3 separate regions of the Homo sapiens genome follow, and all the other regions are linked to region 1. Evidence: promoter capture Hi-C in 16 types of primary human blood cells and fetal thymus (Javierre and others, 2016). All regions are on one chromosome and are shown on one strand. Each heading gives the region's core, a stretch centred on a gene start or on the middle of the fragment in contact. The rest is flanking DNA. Distances are from core to core; before and after follow the strand shown.

Region 1 (5,145 bases), core at 826-3,325:
GACCACTTTTGTCAGCCACCTTAATGGAAGAATGCTGGATAGGGATATTATAAAACCACAAGGAATACAACTTTGACCTCAATTTAGGTGGGTAGTTGAGCATCTGGAAGTCATGAGGTGTTGAAGCCTGACACTATTATAAAAGTAAACACTTCTCAGACTAAGCAAATATGATATGGAACTGACAACAAAATTGAGGGGAAAATGCTCTGAGGAAGATGACTGAAAGAATAAAGTACAGAGTAAAATGGCTTTCAGAGGGGCCAAGAGCAGTATACAGCTCTCCTTTAGAACAGTAACATAAAGACTCAGCTTCTCCTGGGGGTCTCCATCCTGCTTTGTGCCACAGAAAGTGTAGGACTACTGGGGAGGGTTCTGGTTCCTTTCTTAAGTATATAAACAACAAAATCAAAAGTTTTATTTTATTTATTTATTTATTTATTTAGTGACAGGGTCTTGCTCTGTCATCCAGGCTGGATTGCAGTGGCATGATCACAGTTCACTGCAGCCTCGACCTCCTGGACTCAGGTGATCCTCCCACCTCAGCCTCCTAAATAGCTGGGACTATAGGCACACACCACCACGCTTGGCTAATTTTTTGTAGAGCCGGGGTTTCGCCATGTTGCCCAGGCTGGTCAAGAACTCCTGGGCTTAAGCAATCTGCCTGCCTTGGCCTCCCAAAGCGCTGGCATTACAGGTGACAAAGAATTTTAGCTCCAAGAGTTCTTTAGGCCCATCACTTCTAGAGGTTGGTCAGATATTAATGGTGTGAAAGGTAAAGAAAGTCATTGATAACAATTAACATGTGGTAAGCGCTTAAGATTTGCCAGTCGTTATTCTAAGCCATTTTACATGAATCATCCCGTTTAATCTCAATAACAACTCTAAGTTCTTTTATCCTCATTTGACAGATAAGGAAACTGAGACTCACGGAGGTTAAGTAAATTGCCTAAGGTTACACAGCCAGTAAACTCGAAGAGCTAGACCTGAACTCAGATTTGCCAGCCTCCAAAGGCTTCCAGACTTCTAACCGTAATGCTAATATATAGCAAATAGTCTTTAGTTGTGGATTTTCTCACTAGCATAACAGCATTGATCAGGCCATATTCTAGCAAGTGATTTTCAAATATGAAGTGACAGAGATAACATACAAAGGCCAGGCAATTTTAAGCAAATGCTCTTACAGGTGTACTAGGACAGAGCCTTAAAACCAATGACTCCTTCTAAACATGGAGTTCAGACATTCAAATACCTTTACCTAGTAAAGTTCTAATAGAAAAGGAGTTATTTTAGGGCTAGTATAAGTCCATCCATGTATTCCCAGTGTCAACTGTGCTCGACGTAGTAAGTGTGGAATCAATGTCTAGTGACCGGTTAGATGACCCGCATAGTGGATCTTTTCAAATCTCACATGGAGGATCTCATACAAAAACATTAAGAACATTAAAGCAAGCCCTGACAATAATTTTTAAAAAATAACAGTCTATTTCCAGGGTAAACAATTACTTTGTCACGCCGCTGCTTAGGGGCTCGGAGAACCTGCTTCTGATGTGGGTCCAGGTTGAGGAACACTTCGCCACTTGAGAACGCAAATAAAGTCCAGAAATCCAGGACCACAGCAATACTCCAGCCCAGGGTTGCAGGGCAGCCTCTTTACCAGCCGGGCGACCCATTTCTATCTTGGCGCCGGCGAAGCGCCGGTTTGGGCGGGGGACCGCTCTCAGCCTGAACAGTGGGTGGGCCGGCAATGACAATGCAGGAATTCCGCGCAGGCCGCAGGGTTTGGGGACCTGTCTGAAGGGTGGGAGGGAGCACTTTTCACCTGACACACCCAACCCCCCTGCCGCAGCCCAGGGCCGCGGATGAGCGGAAGGAAAGCACTTCCATACTGTCAGATCACTGGGCTTCAGTTGCAGCATAGCGGCCCACCCCGCCGCCCGCGTACGCTCAGCCCCTCAGCGCCGGCCAGGCAGCCACGCACGCGCAGTCCGTTCTCGCTCGCTCCATCAGTCCTGGCCCGGCCCGGGGCCCCGCCCCCGCAGGCCCCGCCCCGCTCCCGTGCGCTGAACGCCCCATATCCGGGTTCCCGCCGCCTCCACCGCCACCGCCTCAGCCGCCTCGCACATTTAGTCTTGCCGGGAGTGGTGTGATTCCCGACCAAGATGGCGGCCGTGGGGCGAGTCGGCTCCTTCGGTTCTTCTCCGCCGGGATTATCCTCGACTTACACTGGCGGCCCCTTGGGCAACGAGATAGCGTCGGGCAACGGTGGCGCCGCGGCAGGCGACGACGAGGACGGGCAGAACCTTTGGTAACGACTCCACCTCTCCCTCAGCCCCCGCTGGCTCCCCCGGCCTTGCGCGGACGCCTCGGGATCCCGTGCCCGCTGGAGCTCGGCGCCGGGCCCGGCCACTGCGTTCCCGGCAGCCCCATCCCCGGCGCGCCGAGGCCGGGTCCGTCCCTCCCGCGCTGCGGCTCCGGCCTCCGGCCTCACCGTACGCCTTGCTTCCCGTTAGGTCCTGCATCCTCAGCGAGGTCTCCACCCGCTCGCGCTCCAAGCTCCCTGCGGGGAAGAACGTGCTACTGCTGGGTAAGTGTTCCCTGCCTCGCCCCGCCCCGCCCGGCCCCCAGCGGCCCGGGGTACCTGGTCCGCGGGCTAGCTCGCTGGCTCTCTTTGTGCGGACAGCCGGCCCAGCCCCGCCCCGCCTCGCCTCCCGACCTGTCGCGGATGGCTGGGAGAGAAGGGGAACACGAGACCCTTGACCCAGGACCTGCGGGGACCCGCCCTCCCTCAGGTTCCTCCTCCTCCTCCCCGGTATATGGGGGTGGCCCTGACAGCTTCCCCTGGGAAGGACAGAATTCGATCGCTCATCTGAGGGATTCTCGTGGCCTGGGGTTTATCTAGAAAATGACAGGTTTTCTTTCATCACAAAAATTGGTAGCAGGAGGCTCTTTGCGAGAGCTGCAGCGCAAATGGCATGCCATTAATATTTAATAGCTGACTCTTTGTATAATTGACAGAAGCTAGAACTAAGACCTGGCGATAAATGTTCTTGATTCAGCGTTCTCTGGTACAATGTGCTCGTGTTGCAGCTACCTTAACTGTCACATATAATTCTGAAATTTGTAAAGGGCAGTAGAACACAACTTTCTAGTTAAGTCTTTTCAGCCAAATGGATGTAATAAGGAGAAACGGTCCAGTGTCAGTTCTCCTGATTGTTCTGTATCTCCTCGGCTCTCTGGAAGTTGTGTATTCTGTTTCTTTAGTGACTCTGGGGGTGGGGATAGAGGACTGAGGGAGAATAGTTCGCAGATTCGCATTTTTCTAGGCTTAGCTCCTGAATCATTTATAGGAGAAATTTCTCTATATAGCTCTTTACATGCGAGATAACTGAAGTTTGGCTTATACGATGATTAAATTTAAAAACTTTGGTATTTGGTGTCGGCTCAATACCAGAGTTTTTTGTTGTTGTTGTTGTTGTTTTGGTTATATCCATCTAAAAACAGGAAACAAGAAGTCAAATACTACTTGATAGGCTGCGTGGTTAAATATGAATGTTTACATAGAAAAAATTACTTTTTTAATAGACTGCTGCCAAGCAAGAATATATGATTATTGATATTCTTTAAAGCTACATGGAGCTAGTTGAAAAATTAGTTTTTACCCTTGTTTTTAATGTGGTTGAAAGCACCTACTGAAGATTAGCCTGGATTGAGTCACTGCCCTATCACATATAAGCCCTAGGATCTTAAGCAAGTTGCTTGACATCTATAAACCTCAGTTTCTTCATCTTTAAAATGGTTGTTATAGAAATAATAATACTTGCCTCTAGGGTTGTGGCGGGAATCAAATGAGTTAATGTTTGTATCGTGGTAATATTTGCAAGTGATACTTTGTCATGGATTTATCTTAAACTGCATTAGAAAATATTTGTGATCAGAACTTTTTAAAAAATTGAATTAGTGCCTACATAAGTGATATTCATAGGGCAAAAATAAATTAGGATCCAAAAGCAAAAAAAAATTGTATAATATATTTTTAGTTTACTAATTTAAACAAATTACTACTCATTTCTAAGGTAAAATGGATTTAAGCTCATATGACCTCATTGAAATTGATTCTATTTTAATTAAATATTTGGAAACACTGTCATGGTAAAGGTAAGATTCAGTAGTTTTGTTCTTATTTTATACATTTTGTCCAGTTATTTCTGCACATTAGATATTGTGTAGATGATTCTGTTTATGGTAAAACAAAAGTGGCAGTTTTGTTCATTTTTTGGTATACCTAATTTGCACTGAGGTTGTGCCATTTTTTTTTTAACACCCCTTTGACACTGGGTCTGTGCATGGGACTGAGTGTTCTTAGAGGTCCCAGCCTCCTTCACTCCACCATACAAGAATAGATTAAATTTCCTTTTTTATGAACTTAATAGTTCATAAAGTGCATCTAATATCAGGTAATATGAGCTTGAAATTTAATATTTTTCTTTCAGTACTATTGGGATTTTCATCAGAGAGTCCTTTTCAGCTTTGGAAGGAGCTAATAACTGATTTGTATACTGGTTACAAAAATAGAGTTAACTTTCTAAAATACCCCTGAAGATTTCTTACAGACATTTCACCGTCACATATGGCAGCATTCACTCTGTGCTGGTGGAGGAAAGAAATACCAAATAGGGATTGTGGTTTTCTTTGTTATGAGTTTGAAGGTGCTAGGCAGGAGGATGCTTGACCCTAATACATCTTTCATGAATGCAAGTGGTCTCTGGAGTCTCTTATTTAAAAAAACAAATCTAAGGCCAGGCACAGTGGCCCACGCCTGTAATCCCAGCATTTTGGGAGGCCGAGGGGTGGATCGTTTGAGCTCAGGAGTTGGAGACCAGCCTGGGTAGTATGGTGAAACCCCATGTCTACAAAAAATAAAAAAATTGGCCTGGCACGGCAGCTCCTGCCTGTAATCCCAGACTTTAGGAGGCCTAGGTGAGCGGATCACCTGAAGTTAGGAGTTAGAGACCAGCCTGGTCAATATGGTGAAACCCCATCTCTACTACAAATACAAAAATTAGCTGGGCATGGTGGCACACACCTGTAATCCCAGTTACTCGGGAGGCTGAGGCAGGAGAATTGCTTGAGCCCGGGAGGCGG
Region 2 (5,145 bases), core at 860-3,359, 110 kb before region 1:
ACTGGGGATGTTCAACTCATTTTGCTTGTTGACTTTCTGGAGGGCCAAAGAATAATAACATCTGCTTATTATGAGAGTGTTTTAAGAAAGTTAGCCAAAGTTTTAGGAAAAAAAGAAAAGAATTCCGGGTGCGGTGGCTCACGCCTGTAATCCCACCACTTTGGGAGGCTGAGGTGGGCAGATCACGAGGTCAAGAGAGCAAGACCATCCTGGCCAACATGGTGAAACTCTGTCTCTACTAAAAAATACAAAAATTAGCTGGGTGTGGTGGCATGTGCCTGTAGTCCCAGCTACTTGGGAGGTTGAGGCAGGAGAATCACTTGAACTAGGGCGGCAGAGATTGCAGTGAGCCAAGATCACACCACTGCACTCCAGCCTGGCGACAGAGTGAGACTCTGTCCCAAAACAAAACAAAACAAAAAACAAAAAAACTGAAAAGAAAAGAAACAAAACCACACAGGAAAGCTTTACTAGAGAGACTTTCTCCACCACAACAATGCTCCTGTTCATTCCTCTCATCAAACCAGGGCAATTTTTTGAGAGTTTCAGTGGGAAATCATTAGGCATCCACCTTACAGTCATGATTTGGCTTCTTCTGACTTTTTTTTTTCTAACCTTAAGGCTAAGGCAGGCAGATCACTAAAGAACTGAGGGGCCTGGGGATTTAACCATGTCAATGCATGTCTTTTTTTCATTGTTAGCTGAATAAAATGGGTGCCCTTTAAGATTTTTTTTTTTTTAATGGAGTCTCCCTCTGTTGCCCAGGCTGGAGTGCAGGGGCATGATCTCAGCTCACTGCAACCTCCACTTTCCAGGTTCAAGCCATTCTCATGCCTCAGCCTCCTGAGTAGCTGAGATTGCAGGCGTGCGCCACCACACTGGGCTAATTTTTGTATTTTTAGTAGAGAGAGGGTTTCACCAAGTTGCCCAAGCTAGTCTCAAACTCCTTACCTCAAGTGATCTGGTATCATCATTTATAAGTGTCTTGAACTCAATGAAGTTTATGTTAAGAAATGAAGTTTATCTTTTTAATTCTATTTTTCCATGAACTTTTTTTTTTTTTTTGAGACAAAGTTTCACTATTGTCACCCAGGCCGGAGTGGACTGGCTCAATCTCGGCTCACTGCAACCTACGCCTCCTGGGTTCAAGTGATTCTCCTGCCTCAGCCTCCCAAGTAGCTGGGATTACAGGCGCCCACCACCAAGTCCAGCTAATTTTTTGTATTTTTAGTACAGACGGGGTTTCACTATGTTGGCCACGTTGGTCTCAAACTCTTGACCTCAGGTGATCCACCCGCCTTGGCCTCCCAAAGTGCTGGGATTACAGGCGTGAGCCACTGCGCCTGGCCCAAACATCAATTTTCTAAGTGACCCATTTAGGCTCACTGCAACCTCTGCCTCCTGGGTTCAAGTGATTCTCCTGCCTCAGCCTCCCAAGTAGCTGGGACTACAGGCGCCCGCCACCACGGCCGGCTTATTTTTTGTATTTTTAGTGGAGACGGGGTTTCACTATGTTGGCCAGGATGGTCTCAATCTCTTGACCTCGTGATCTGCCTGCCTCGGCCTCCCAAAGTGCTGGGATTACAGGCGTGAGCCACCGCGCCTGGCCCATGTTATTCTTTTAAACTGCTGAGTTTGAAGATGCTTTGTTGTGCAGCAACAGGTAACTGAAACATCTACTAATTCATTTCCCCATCTAGTTCAACCAACCAAGGTCTGTGCATTCTACTTCTTAAATAGGCTGGATCTTCCCATTCTCACTGCTACTCCATTCCTAAGCCTAAATCCCAACTGAGACTAGCGCCACTTCAACCTTTTCATCTGGTCTGTTTTCCTCCAGAATCCTTCCATTTAGCCAAAGATTTTTAGAAATATGAATTGGATTATATCCACACCCATTTAAGACAATTCAATGCTCTTAGTACCAAGTCCAAACTCCTTAAAAGGCCTTTTTTTTTTTTGAGATGGAGTTTTGCTCTTGCCCAGGGTGGAGTGCAATGGCGAGATCTTAGCTCACTGTAACTTCCAACTCCCGGTTCAAGTGATTCTCCTGCCTCAGCCTCTGGAGTAGCTGGGATTACGGGTGCCCGCCACCACATCTGGCTATTTTTTTGTACTTTTAATAGAGACAGGGTTTCCCCATGGTGCTCAGGCTGGTCTCGAACTCCTAATATCAGGTGATCCACCCGGCTTGGGCTCCCAAATTGCTGGGATTATAGGTGTGAACCACTGTGCCCGACCTACAAGGACTTTTAAGGGCCTTCACAATCTGGCTGTGACCTCTGGCTTCATGTCTCCATACTCCCCACTTTGGCCATATTACTGGGGTTCCTCAGAGGCACTATATTGTTTTTTTGCATTTGCCATGGCATTTGTCTATAATCCCCTTTAGCCTCCACTCCACATGCTCTTTTTTTTTTTTTTTTTAAGACTGAGTCTCTCTGTCACGCAGGCTAGAGTGCAGTGGCACAATTTCAGCTCACTGCAACCTCTGCCTCCTGGGTTCAAGCAATCCTCTTGCCTCAGCCTCCTGAGTAGCTGGGACTACAGGCATGCAGCATCATGCCTGGCTAATTTTTGTATTTTTAATGGAGATGGGGTCTCACCATGTGCCCAGGCTGGTCTCGAATTTCTGACCTCAGGTGATCCACCTGCCTTGGCCTCCCAAAGTGCTGAGATTACAGGCGTGAGCCACTGTGCCTGGCCACACACTCTTGTGTAGCCAATGCCATCACCTTCCAAGGAAGGACGAGTGTCATTTTCCCAAGAAGACTTTTTTGACTGCCAAAGACTGTACTACTAGCACTTTGGGAGGCCAAGGCAGGCGGATCACGAGGTCAAGAGATTGAGACCATCCTGGCCAACATGGTGAAACCCCGTCTCTACTAAAAATACAAAAATTAGCTAGGCGTGGTGGCGTGCACCTGTAGTCCCAACTACTCGGGAGGCCGAGGCAGGAGAATCGCTTGAACCTGGGAGGCAGAGGTTGCAGTGAGCCAAGATCGTGCCAGTGCACTCCAGCCTGGCGACAGAGCGAGACTCCATCTCAAAAAAAAAAAAAAAGACTGTACTAACATCTTTCAAATCTTCTATTACACTTCGGGGACAATCTCTTGGCATGAATCCCCTTGCCACCACCCTAACTGTAATCTCCAAATTCTGCCTTTAAATATTATCAATATTGTATTTCCATTGATTTGTATATGCGTCCGATGCGTAGTAAGCACTATGATATCTGTAACCACACAACTTTAAAATATAATTCCTCACTATATCGGGGTGTTAAACAGTCTTTACTTTTGTATGGCCTTTGATGGTTTCATACAGAGTTTGTACAATTATTTCTCTTTTTATCCTTAACATCCCTGTGATAAGGATATTCATACCCATTTTATAGATAAGGAAAGTGCGGCTTTTTTTGATTTCTGAAAAGTAAATCAGTAGATCAACTTGCTCAGCTAGTAAGTATTAGAACTAGAACTTGAAAAGAGTTCTTGGACTCTAGATGTGACTCTTTCTAGGTCCCTGAGGGTTAAATCAAGGTGTTATTATTCCCATAATCAAGATTTAGATGGAAACTACAAATGGTTTTGCAACTGATTCATCACAGGAACACTCTGTTACCAAGAAGTACTACAAAGGTGCAAAAGCATAAATTTCTGCCCCTTTTTCCAAAGCAGTAACATACCCAGGGACATCAAGCCCCTGGCCCAACTGTGCTTCTCTTTCACTGGCTGTTCAAATCAAGCTTCCAAGGGAAAGCTATTTGCTAACTTAAAGTGTGGTAGTAACCGTTGGACCCAAGTCTGGTAAATTTTGTTTGACCTGCCTTGGCCTCCCAAAGCCCTGGGATTATACTTATTTGTCAATGAAGTCATGTACTTGGGTAGTACACATGCACTGCAAATATTTATGTTGTCTAACTGAACCAGGGTCCCTTCACCTGGCACAGTAAGGCCAAATACCCACACCAAGGTTTGTGGTGGGAGAAAGGAGTGTTTATCTGTAGGGCACCAAGCAAGGAGAATTGGGCAGCTCATGCTTAAGATCCAACCTTCTTGATGGCTTGCAAGTAAGGGTTTTTAAAGGTAGGTGGGGGCAGGTGTGGTGGCTCACACCTATAATCTCAACACTTTGGGAGGCTGAGGTGTGAGGATCACCTGAGCCCAGGAGGTCAAGGCTGCAGTGAGCAGTATCCTTGCCATTTCATTCCAGTCTGGGTAACAGATCGAGAACCTGTCTCAAAAAAAAAAAAAAAAAAAGTTCAGCCATAATTTATAAGGTTATAACTCATGAAAGGGATTTCCTTTGCCCTTGGCTCTACATTTTGTCCTTGTTGTGCTCTGCTCTGCTCTGTATCACAGGGCTCACTCCTCTAGGCTGCTTCCCAGGCTCCCATGTCAGCTGGCTTCAGTGAAATTCAGTCAACAGAAGGCATCAGTGAGAGATTATGGGGCAAGAGGAAGGGCAAGGTGTTTCTCCCTTTCCATGTCTGCCTCAGAAGTCTTTCTGGCAAAGGCTTTATCCCCAAACAGTCCCATGATGGTTCTGGCTTTGTTCAGTGACGCCAGCCCTTGGATGTCAGAAACATCTCTTCCATCCTTCCCTTTCTCCTGTAGCTGAGGGTGGTGGTGGTATTCTTCTGTTGCTAAGGCCTGGGTTGCTTTACTCCTTTGCTTGGTTTCTCAGCTCTTCCATCCAATTCCTACTATTTGATTCCTCCTTTTTTAATTTATTTTTAATTTTTTAATTTTTTTTTTTGAGATGGAGTCTCACTCTGTCACCCAGGCTGGAGTGCAGTGGTGCAACCTCTGCTCACTGCAACCTCTGCCTCCTGGGTTCAAGCGATTCTCCTGCCTCAGCCTCCCAAGTAGCTGGGATTACAGGCGTGTGCCACCATGCACAGCTAATTTTTTTTTTTTTTGTATTTTTAGTGGAGATGGGGTTTCACCATGTTGGCCAGGCTGGTCTCAAACTTCTGACCTCAAATGATCCATCCACCTCGAACTCCCAAAGTGCTGGGATTACAGGCAAGCGCCACAGGGCCCAGTCTCCTTTACTTCTTCTTCTTGGCTTTTTATTTATTTTTATTTTTATTTTTTTATTTTTGACACAGAGTCTCACACTGTTGCCTGCCCAGGCTGG
Region 3 (5,145 bases), core at 695-3,194, 82 kb before region 1:
GTAATTTATAAAGAAAAGAAGTTTAATCATTTAATCGACTCACAGTTCTGTAGGCTGTACAGGCTTCTGCTTTTGGAGAGGCCTCAGGAAACCTACAATCACGGCAGAAGGCAAAGGGGAAGCAGGCACATGTTCGCATGGCTGGCAGGAGAGAGAGAGAGAAAAGGGGGAGGTGCTATACACTTCTTTTTTTTTTTTGAGATGGAGTCTTGCTTTGTCACCCAGGCTGCAGTGCAGTGGTGCAATCTCAGCTCACTGCAACCTCCGCCTCCCAGGTTCAAGTAATTCTCCTGTCTCAGCTTCCCGAGTAGCTGGGACTATAGGTGTGGGCCACCATGCCCGGCTAATTTTTGTATTCTTAGTAGAGACGGGGTTTCACCGTATTGGTCAGGCTGGTCTCGAACTCCTGACCTCAGGTGATCCACCTGCCTCGGCCCCCCCAAAGTGCCAGGATTACAGGCATGAGCCACCATGCCCAGCCAAAATCAACTCAAAATTACTTAAAGACTTTTTTTTTTTTTTTTTGAGATAAAGTTTCGCTCTTGTTGCCAGGCTGGAGTGCAGTGGCACGATTTGAGCTCACTGCAACCTCCCCTTCCTGGGTTCAAGCGATTCTCCTGCCTCAGCCTCCTGAGTAGTTGGTATTACAGACATGCACCACCACGCCTGGCTAATTTTATACTTTTAGTAGAGACAGGGTTTCGCCATGTTGGGCAGGCTGGTCTTGAACTCCTGACCTCAGGTGATCCACCAGCCTCGGCCTCCCAAAATGCTGGGATTACAGACATGAGCCACCGCGCCCAGCCACTACTGTAGGCTTTATAAACACTATATACTTAGGCTATGCTAAATGTATAAAAAATATTTTTTCTTCAATAATATTTTTACCTTATAAAGTTTAAGAAATCTTTTTGACTCTTGTAATAACACTTAGCTTAAAATACAAACACATAGTGCAGCTGTACAAAAATATTATTTCTTTATATCCTTATCGTATAAGTTTTTTTCTATTTTAAAATTTTTGGGCCGAGCACAGTGGGCAGTGGTGTGTGCCTGTAATCTCAGCACTTTGGGAGGCCAAGCTGGGTGGATCTCTTGAGCTCAGGAGTTTGAGACCAGCCTGGGCAACATGGTGAAACCTCATCTCTATGAAAAATATAAACATTAGCTGGGCATGATGGTGTGTGTCTGTAGTCCCTGCTACTCAGGAGGTTGAGGTGAAATGATAGCTTGAGCCCAGGAGGTTGAGGCTGCAGTGAGCTGTGATTGCGCCACTGAACTCCAGCCTAGGCGACAGAATGAGGCTGTATCCAAAAAAAAAAAAAAAGAAAAAGTATTTTGTTTTTTATTTTTTAAATTTTTTTGTTAAAAGCTAAGACAGAAACACAAGGCTGGGCACAGTGACTCATGCCTGTAATCCCAGCACTTTGGGAGGCTGAGGATCACTTGAGCTCAGGAGATCCACCCACCTCCGCCCCTACAAAGTGCCGGGATTACAGGCATGAGCCACCATGCTCAGTCAAAATCAACTCAAAATTACTTAAAGACTTTTTTTTTTTTTTTTTTTTGAGGTGAAGTTTCGCTCTTGTTGCCCAGGCTGGAGTTTAGTGGCACGATCTCAGCTCATTGCAACCTCCCCTTCCTGGGTTCAAGCGATTCTCCCGCCTCAGCCTCCTGAGTAGTTGGGATTACAGACATGCACCACCACACCTGGGCAAAATGGTGAAACCCCATCCCTACTACAAATACAAAAAATTAGCTGGGCATGGTGGTGCATGCCTGTGGTCCTAGCTACTCAGGAGGCTGAGGTGGGAGGATCGCTTGAGCCTGGAAGGTAGAGGTTGCAGTGAGCTGAGATTGTGCTACTGCACTCCAGCCTGGGCAACAGAGCCAGACCCCACCTCAAAAAAAATTAAAAAAAAAAAAAAAAGAAAACCAAAAACTAAGACACAAACACCAATATTCTCCTAGGTCTACATAGGGTCAGGGTCATCAATGTCATTATTTTCTCCCTCAATATTTTCTCCCACTGGAAGTTCTCCAGAGGCAATAACGTGCATAGAGCTGTCATCTCCTATGATAACAATGCCTTCTTCTGGAATTCCTCCTGGAGGACCTGCCTCAGGTTGTTTTACAGTTAACTCCTTTTTCTTTTTTAATGAGTACAAAGAGTAGACACCATGATTAAAAATATAGTATAGTAAATACATAAACCTGTAGCAAGTCATTTATTATCATTATGAAGTATTATGTGCTTACCTAATTGTAAGTGCTACACTTTTACACAACTGGCAGTGCAGGTTTCTTTACATCGGCATCACCATAAATTCACAAGTAATGTATTGTGCTACAATGTTATAACAGCTACAATGTCACTAGGTGATAGGAATTCATTTTTAGATTTTTTAAAATTTTTACTTTGGTAGAGATGGGGTCTTACTGTGTTGTCCAGGCTGTTCTTTTTTTTTTTTTTTTTTTTTTTTTGAGACGGAGTCTCGCTCTGTCGCCCAGGCTGGAGTGCAGTGGCGGGATCTCGGTTCACTGCAAGCTCCGCCTCCCGGGTTCACGCCATTCTCCTGCCTCAGCCTCCCAAGTAGCTGGGACTACAGGCGCCCGCCACTATGCCCGGCTAATTTTTTTTTTGTATTTTTAGTAGAGACGGGGTTTCACCGTTTTAGCCGGGATGGTCTCGATCTCCTGACCTCGTGATCCGCCCGCCTCGGCCTCCCAAAGTGCTGGGATTACAGGCGTGAGCCACCGCGCCCGGCCCCAGGCTGTTCTTAAACTCCTGGCCTCAAGTGATGCTCCTGTCTTGGCCTCCCAAAGTGCTGGGATTACAGGCATGAGCCACTATGCTGAACCTTGCAATAGGAATTTTTAAGCTCCATTATAATCTTATGGGACCATTGTTGTACATGTGGTTCATGACTGATTGAAACATCATGATAAAGCACATGGCTATGCTTGACTTCCCATAGTCAAACATGTCTCTAGCAGGGCTTAGTAGTAAATCAGAAACTGCTTCTCAAAAGGAGAATAATTAACAGCAAAAGAGGGCATGACTTTGCTCCAGAATTGTACATATGTGTGCTAAGATTCTCCTCCTGGGGCTCACCAGTGGCTTTGTCTAGTACCTTAAAATTTTTTTTTTTTTTTTGGCTGGGCGCAGTGGCTCACGCCTGTAATCCCAGCACTGTGGGAGGCCGAGGCGGGCGGATCAAGAGATCAGGAGATCAAGACCATCCTGGCTAACACTGTGAAACCCTGTCTCTACTAAAAATACAAAAAATTAACCGGGCCAGGTGGCGGGCACCTGTAGTCCCAGCTACTGGGGAGGCTGAGGCAGGAAAATGGCGTGAACCCAGGAGGCGGAGCTTGCAGTGAGCCAAGATCATGCCACTGCACTCCAGCTTGGGCGATAGAGCGAGACTCCGTCTCAAAAAATAAATAAATAAATACAAAATAAATTTCCTTTTTTTTTAACCAAAGAACATTCAAAGTGTTATGTGTCCAAAGGCCCAAGTGGCACAGTGGCTTGTACCACAGCCGGGATTTGCTGCAGAGTTTTTTATTGCTTTGGGACATCACTCAAAATTGGTTCCTTTATGCTAAGTGGGTTGGAGCAGCACACCCAAATATAGTATGTTTGCTTTCAAAATCCCAAGAAGCTAAAACTGTAAAATCCTTAGAAGAAAATAGGCATAAAACTTTGTGACCTCAGATCATGCAATAGTTTCTTATCTATAATACTTAAAGTACAGCCAGCAACCAAAGAAAAAATAGATAAAATGGACTTTATCAAAATTAAAAACTATTGAACATCAAAGGACACTCTCAAAAAAAATGAAAAGACCACCTACAGAATGGGAGAAAATATTTGGAATATCATATATCTGATAGGGTCTAGTATCTAGAATATACTTAAAAACTCTTACAACTCTGCAATAAAAAGATAGCCCAATTTAAAAATTGACAAAGGATCTAAACAGACATTTCCCTAAAGACATACAAATGGCCAAAAAGCACATGAAAAGATCTTTAACACCATTAATTGTTAGAGAAATGCAAATCAAAATCACAATGAGATACTGCTTCATACTCACTAGAATGGCTATAATAAAAAAGATGGACAATAACAAGTGTTGGCAAAGATGTGGAGAAATTGGAACCCTTACATATTTCCTGGTCGAAATGTAAAATAGTACAACCACTTTTGCTAGCAGCTTGGAAGTTCATCAAAAACTTAAACATAGAGTTACCATGTGACCTAGCAATTCTACACCTAGGTATATACCCAGGAGCATTGAAAACATATGTTTGAGGCTGGGTGTGGTGACTCACACCTGTAATCCCAGCACTTTGGGATGCTGAGGCAGGTGGATCACTTGAGGCCAGGAGTTCAAGATTAGCCTGGCCAACATGGTGAAACCATCTCTACTAAAAATGCAAAAAATTAGCCGGGCATGGTGGTGCATGCCTGTAATCCCAGCTACTTGGGAGGCTGAGGCAGGAGAATCACTTGAACCTGGGAGGTAGAGGTTGCAGTGAGCCAAGACTGCACTACTGCGCTTCAACCTGGGTGACAGAGTGAGGCTGTCTCAAAAAAAAAAACAGAAAAAAAAGTCCCCCAAGTACTTATACATAAATATTCATAGCAGCATTATTCATAATAGCCAAAAGGTGAAAACAACCCAAATGTTCATCAGCTAATGACAGATAGATACACAAAATGTGGTCTATCCATACAATGTAATGATATTCAGCCATAAAAAGAAATGAAGTACTGATACACATGACAACATGGATTAGCCTTTAAAACATCTTAAGTGAAAGAAGCCAGCCTCCAAAGCCACATATTGTGATTCTGTTTATAAGAAACGTCCAGAATAGGCAAATCCATAGACATGGAAAGATCAGTGATGGCCAGGGGCTGGAGGGAGGACTGTTAATAGGAATGGGCTTTTTTGGGGGTGATGAAAATGTTCTGGAATTCAATAGTGGTGATGACTGCACAACTCTGTAAACATACTGAAACCCATTAAATTGTATTTTGTTCTTCTTTAATCTGAAAATAGTTCTTCAGTTTTTCTTTGTTGTACATGATGACACTGACACCTTCGAAGAACACAGGCTGGTTTTGTACAA

Evidence for each region. Contacts are between HindIII fragments. The CHiCAGO score rates a contact against its expected background, and 5 or more counts as called.
Region 2: a contact is called between a fragment that was not itself captured here and the fragment with the promoter of DYNC1LI1 in region 1, in 2 of 17 cell types (neutrophils and erythroblasts). The highest score is 10.4, in neutrophils.
Region 3: a fragment that was not itself captured here is called in contact with the fragment with the promoter of DYNC1LI1 in region 1 in 1 of 17 cell types (erythroblasts); the score reaches 5.3 in erythroblasts.

The regions. Positions count from the first base shown.
Region 1 is chr3:32,567,788-32,572,932 of GRCh38, reverse strand. DYNC1LI1 (dynein cytoplasmic 1 light intermediate chain 1) reads left to right here and starts at 2,075. Exons shown (of 13, transcript NM_016141.4): 1 at 2,075-2,308; 2 at 2,514-2,587. The coding sequence starts at 2,163. RefSeq lists silencers at 1,878-2,137, 2,318-2,807 and an enhancer at 2,082-2,867. The HindIII fragment of the contact is 15,701 bases long and covers 1-5,145 here.
Region 2 is chr3:32,674,604-32,679,748 of GRCh38, reverse strand. No RefSeq gene overlaps it. Among named protein-coding and RNA genes, the nearest start is that of CNOT10, 8.0 kb to the left of the region's middle. The HindIII fragment of the contact is 3,283 bases long and covers 468-3,750 here.
Region 3 is chr3:32,649,209-32,654,353 of GRCh38, reverse strand. No RefSeq gene overlaps it. Among named protein-coding and RNA genes, the nearest start is that of CNOT10, 33 kb to the left of the region's middle. The HindIII fragment of the contact is 6,784 bases long and covers 1-5,145 here.